Linked DNA regions of Homo sapiens: region 1 is linked to region 2. The links are contacts of gene promoters, found by promoter capture Hi-C in human tissues and cell types (Jung and others, 2019). All regions are on one chromosome and are shown on one strand. The core of a region is centred on a gene start or on the middle of the fragment in contact, and the rest is flanking DNA. Distances in the headings are between cores, read along the strand shown. Region 1 overlaps FLVCR1 (FLVCR choline and heme transporter 1). Region 2 holds the start of VASH2 (vasohibin 2).

What was found. Contacts are between HindIII fragments. The study calls those that stand out against the background at their distance.
Region 1: a contact is called between a fragment that was not itself captured here and the fragment with the promoter of VASH2 in region 2, in 4 of the 25 tissues and cell types used here (H1 embryonic stem cells, liver, lymphoblastoid cells and 1 more).

What each region holds. Positions count from the first base shown.
Region 1 is chr1:212,891,775-212,894,632 of GRCh38, reverse strand. All of the region lies in intron 8 of FLVCR1 (FLVCR choline and heme transporter 1), which reads right to left. Among named protein-coding and RNA genes, the nearest start is that of FLVCR1, 35 kb to the right of the region's middle. The HindIII fragment of the contact is 4,420 bases long and covers 1-2,858 here.
Region 2 is chr1:212,948,533-212,951,820 of GRCh38, reverse strand. VASH2 (vasohibin 2) reads right to left here and starts at 1,280. Exons shown (of 8, transcript NM_001301056.2): 1 at 1,081-1,280; 2 at 3-482. The coding sequence starts at 278. RefSeq lists enhancers at 575-624, 1,145-1,294. The HindIII fragment of the contact is 12,745 bases long and covers 1-3,288 here.

The sequences.
Region 1 (2,858 bases), core at 1-2,500, 57 kb after region 2:
GTCAGCCAAAGGAAATTAGAGAAGGCTTTCCAGAGAAGACATACTTGATACTGGAAAAAACTGAGTAATAACTTGTCAAGCAGACAAGAGGAGAGGAAGGCATTCTAGGCAGAAGGGAATGCAGGTATATCTCAGAGACATTGTGGGTTCAGCTCCAGATCACCACAAAAGAGTGAATATTGCTGGGCGTGGTGGGTCATGCCTGTAATCCCAGCACTTTGGGAGGCCGAGGTGGGTGGATCACAAGGTCAGAAGATCGAGACCATCCCGGCCAACACGGTGAAACTCCATCTCTACTAAAAACACAAAAAATTAGCCAGGCGTGGCGGCACGCACCTGTAGTCCCAACTACTAGGGAGGCTGAGACAGAAGAATCACTTGAACCTGGGAGGTGGAGGTTGCAGTGAGCAGAGATCGCACCACTGCACATATTTTTTGGTTTTCCAGTGCATAAAAAGTTATGTTTATACTATACTGTAGTCTATTTAAAGTTTGCAATAGCATTATGTCTAAAAAAAAAAATCAATCTACATGCCTTAATTTAAAAACACTTTACTGGCCAGGCTCAGTGGCTCATGCCTGTAATCCTAGCACTTTGAGAGGCCGAGGCGGGTGGATCACTTGAGGTCAGGAGTTCGAGACCAGCCTAGCCAACATAGTGAAACCCCCATCTCTACTAAAATACAAAAATTAGCTGGTTGTGGTGGTGGGCATCTGTAATCCCAGCTACTCAGGAGGCTGAGGCAGGAGAATCACTTGAACCCAGGAGGCAGAGGTTGCAGTGAGCCCAGATGGCGCCATTCCACTCCAGCCTGGGCAACAAGAGCGAAACTCCATCTCAAAAAAACAAAACAAAACAAAAAACACTTTACTGCTAAAAAATGCTAATGATTATCCAAGCCTTCTGCAAGTTATCTTTTTGCTGGTGGAGGGTCTTGCCTTGATGTTGATGGCTGCTGACAGATCAGGGTGGTGGTTGCTAAAAGGTGGGAGCGGCTGTGGCAATTTCTTAAAGTAAGACAGTGACGAAGTTTGCCGTATTAATCAACTCTTCCTTTCATGAAAGATCTCTCTGTGTGCAATACTTGTTTGATAACATTTTACCCACAAAACTTCCTCAAAACAGGAGTTGATCCTCTCAAACCCTGCCACTGCTTCATCAGCTAAGTTTATATAATATTCTAAATCCTTTGTTGTCATTTCAACATTTACAGCATCTTTACTAGTAGATTCCAACTCAAGAAAACACTTTCTTTGCTTATCCATAAGAAGCAACCCAGCCAGGCGCAGTGGCTGACACCTGTAATCCCAGCACTTTGGGAGGCCGAGGCAGGCAGATCACAAGGTCAGGAAATCAAAACCATCCTGGCTAACATGGTGAAACCCCGTCTCTACAAAAAATACAAAAAATTAGCCGGGCGTGGTGGCGGGCACCTGTAGTCCCAGCTACTCAGGAGGCTGAGGCAGGAGAATGGCCTGAACCCGGGAGGCAGAGCTTGCTGTGAGCCGAGATCACGCCACTGCACTCCAGCCTGGGCAACACAGCAACATTCCGGCACCCCCCCCCAAAAAAAAAGAAGCAACCCTTCATTTCTTCAGGTTTTACCATAAGATGCAGCAATTCAGTTACCTCTTCATATTCCACTTCTAATTCCAGTTCTCTTGTTATTCCCACCACATCTGCAGCTATTTCCTCCACTGAAGTCTTGAACACCTCAAAATCATCCATGAGAATGGGAATTAACTTCCTCCAAACTCCTGTTAATGTTGATAGTTTGACCTCCTCCCATGAATCAAGAATGTTCTTAATGGCATCTAGGATGGTGCATCCTTTCCAGAAAGTTCTCAATTTACTTTGCTCAGATCCAAGAGAGGAATAATTATTTCTGGCAGCTACAGCCTTTTGAAGTGTATTTCTTAAAGAATAAGACTTGAAAGTTGAAATTACTCCTTGATCCACGGGCTGCAGAAGGGATGCTGTGTTTCCAGACATGAAAGCAACATTGATCTCCTCGTACATCTTCATCAGAGCTCTTGGGTAAACAGGTGAATTGGTCAATGAGCAGTAGTATTTTGAAAGGAATGTTTTTCTCAGTAGCAGGCTTCAACAATGGGTTTAAAATATTCAGCAAACCATGCTACTAACAGATGTACTATCAACTACGGGGTTCAGGTTCATTGTTCCATTGTTAGAGCTTAGGCAGAGAAAATTTGGCCTAATTCTTAAGGGCCCTAGGATTTTCAGAATGGTCAACAAGCATTAGTTTCAATGTGAAGTCACCAGCTGCATCAACCCCTCACAAGAGAATGAGCTTGTCCTTTGAAGCCAGACATTGATTCCTCCTCTCTAGCTATGGCAGTCCTAGATGGCATCTTCTTCCAGTATAAGCCTGTTTCATCTACATGGAAAATTTGTGGTTTATTGTAGCCACCTTCATCAATCATCTTAGCTAGATCTTCTGGATAACCTACTTCAGCATCTACATCAGCACTTGCTGCTTCACCTTGCACTTTTATGTTATGAAGACAACTTCTTTCCTTACCTCATGAACTGACCTCTGCTAGTTTCCAGCTTTTCTTCCGCAACTTTCTCACCTCTTTCAACGTTCACAGAATTGGACAGTTAGGGCCTTGCTCTAGATTAGGCTTTGGCTTACGGCGATGTTGTGGCTGGTATGATCTTCTAACAAGACCACTCAAACTTTCTCCATATCAATAGGCTGTTTTATCATTTGTGTTCACTGGAGTAGCATTCTTAATTTCCCTTAAGAATTTTTCCTTTGCATTAGCAACTTGGCTAATTGTTTGGTGCAAAAGGACTAGCTTTTGGCCTATCTGGGCTTTTGACATGACTTGTT
Region 2 (3,288 bases), core at 31-2,530:
ACCTTTGCCAAGAAGGCGGCGTTCCTGATGGCGCCCACCATTTCTCCCCCCTTAGGGTGCACCTTGGCCACGTGCATCCACATGCGCTCCCAGGTGTGGCTGTCGATGGGGAAGCCGCTCTTGTTGACGTGGAACAGCACCCCGCCGTCTTTGTCCTCCTCCTCTGAGCCCCCGCTGGTGGCGAGGCTCACGGGCCGCGCGTGGCTGCTCCGGGACCGGGTGCCTTTGGCGCCTTTGGGGTGGGGGCAGCGGTGAGTGTCGGCCGCGGAGCCGGTCATGGTGGGGCCTGGGCGGGGAGCGAGGTACTGGGGGCGCGCGGCGGCGGCAGCGGCGGCGGCGGCGGGGGGCGTGTGCGCGCGGGCGCGGCGAGGGGATCAGCGCCCCGCGGGGGCGGCCTTCTCCATGCCTCTCGCTGCGGCAGGACTCACCAAGGGGGAGCGGCGGCGGGAGCTCCGCGGAGGCTCCCTGCTTACCGGCGGTGCCTGAAATCAGCGGAGACACAGCTGACACCACAGCTAAGTGGACGCACAGCGGAACCGAGTGAGGGGTCCCGGAGTGTCTCCACGACACTCCCCGCTCCCCCCTGCACGCTGACAGCCTCCCTGAGAATCGATGACGGGCTTCCAGCCCTGCGATTACCTAGAAAGGCAGCTCAAAATGTGCCACGAAGCTTCACACACACCTAAACCCGGGGGGTTGGGGATGGAGGGGCACAAGGAGCTTGGGGGATGCGGAGCGCAAGATGTGGGGAGAAGAAAGACAGCTTGTGTAGCATGAAGGAACAGGAGGTTCCCGCAAGGCTCCACACATTCCTGGGTCCTCAGATGTGGCCAAGAGAGGAGGGGAGCCACGAACGTGCTGGCATGTGAGCGCCCAGAGCTGGCGCGAGGGCGCTGCAGCAGCCTTGGCTTGCAAGGCGGCCCGCTTTCTTCCAGGAAGCCCTCCCGGACCCCGGCGGGGATCTAGTGGAAAGAGCTCCATCCGCCCCCTTTTCCCCGAGTTCCAGCGCCTATCACCGGGAGGGACTGGCTGCAGGCGGGCGGCGCGCAGGAAGGGCGCGCGGCAGCTCCAAGATCCTACCTCGGGACGGTTGGCTTCATGGCTGCAGAGCCTCTCCGGGCGGCGGGAGAGCAGGGGCTGCTGCTGCTGCTGCTGGGCCTGGGGCTGGGGCTGGGGCTGCTGGGGCTTGCTGGGGCCGTCGCCTCATTCCATGTCCCATTCTCGAATGTTATTCTGTGACATATAACCAAGTCACCCGGGCAGCCGCCGATGTTCCGAATGCGTCTATTGGCCACCGCAACAAAGAGGGGCGGGTCCCGGGCTCGGGACTCTACAACCCCGGGCTCCGCGACGCTCTGATTGGCTCCAGGGGTTCTCTGGCGGGAGGGGACAGGAGTAGGGGGAGCCTGGCGGCCACGCGAAATCCGATCGCTGTGGTGTCCTGAGAGCCCCGCGGGCTGGAGCGTTTGGCCATGGGACTTAAGATCGAGTTTCCCCAGGGGTCGTGGCACTTCGAGGGTTTGCAACTGTGGAAGCAGAGGAGAAACAAAACCACCCGAGAAGTGACCCCGCGGAAGCAGAGGGTTTGGCATCAGAAGAGCATTCCCTGAGGGACGCTGGACACACTTACCTGCCTCTACCCGGGATGATGAGTTGTTCATCCTCTACCTGGGATGATGAGGGGCTGTTCATACCTATGCGTGAAATTAAATCTTTTTTAAATCCCGCATTTAAAAATTCCTCAAAATTAACAAGTGGGTGCAGCTTTGGATCCTCTGGTATTAGTCATGGTTAATAAAGTCCCTTTAAGCCCAAGTTGAGAGGAGACAATAAAACTCAAGAGGTCAGGCAGGCCCTGACTGTTCTGCCACAGCTGTTGAGTGAGAGGAGGGATGGAGAGATGCTTCCAAACCATGGTGAAGTGGGTGGCTATCCCACACTCACTACTGAAACACCTTCTCTTTCTTTTTCTTTAAGAAAGAGGAGAGCAGGTTGAGGTGGGAAGAGCACCAGACTGCTGACCTGAAGGCTGGCTCCTGGTCCAGGTTTGTCACTTTGCTCAGCTGTGTGACCCTGGACAAGCCACTTCCCTGCTCTGGGCCTTAGCTTCTCTTTCTGAAAGGAGAGCAGACCTCCCGCTCTCCAGGGTCTGTTCTGGCTGTAAGGTTCTGTGATTCCCTGACTTCCTCTCTTGTGACACTGAGGATCCTGGCCATAGCATCCTTTCTCTTTAAACTGCAGGCCAGCAGGCCAGCTCTGAGCAAAGCAGTTATGAGACCTATGCTAAGTGAACCTTGAATTAAGAAGACAGTTGTCAAAGTGCCACTGATGGCGGGTCAGTTTCTGGATGCTTATCCTGACAAGTTGCCTGTCATGGAACTGGAACTTCTCTTCCACAGGAGGGCAGAGACCCCTGAGGGGTAGTTGAGAGCCAGGGCTTGGGTGAGGAGACCTGGATTCTGGACTTAGCCCTGCACTGCTCCCTGAGACAGAGCCCATGCCAAGAACTTTATAGATTCAATAATGAGAATAGGGCAGACGTGGTGCCTCACACCTTTAAACCCAGCACTTTGGGAGAAAGAGGAGGAAGGATTACTTGAGGCCAGGAATTAGAGACTGGACCAACATAGCGAGACCTTGTCTCTACTAAATAAATATTTTGAAATTAGCCAGATGTGGTGGCACACACCTGTAGTCCCAGCTACTCAAAAGGCTGAAGTGGACATGTAGAATGAAACTGGATCCTCGTCTCTCACCTTACACAAAAATCAACTCCAGATGGATCAAAGACTTAAGTCTAAGACCTGAAACCATAAAAATTCTAGAAGATAACATGAGAAAAACACTTCTAGACATTAGCTCAGGCAAAGAAATCATGACTAAGACCTCAAAAGCAAATGTAACAAAAATGAAAATAAATAAATGAGACCTAATTAAACTAAAAAGGGTCTGCACAGCAAAAGAAATAATCAGCGGAGTAAACCGACAATCCACAGAGTGCGAGCAAATATTCACAAACTGTGCATCTGACAAAGGACCAGTATCCAGAATCTACAAGGAACCCAAACAGATCAGCCAGATAAAACCAATCCCATCAAAAAATTGGCAAAGGACATGAATAGACAATTTTCAAAAGAGGATATACAGTCAACAAACATATGAAAAAATGTTCAACATCACTAATTATCAGAGACATACAAATTAAACCACCATAAGATACCATCTTACTCTTGCGAGAATTGTCATAAAAGTCAAAAAATAATAGATTTTGATGTGGATGTGGCAAAA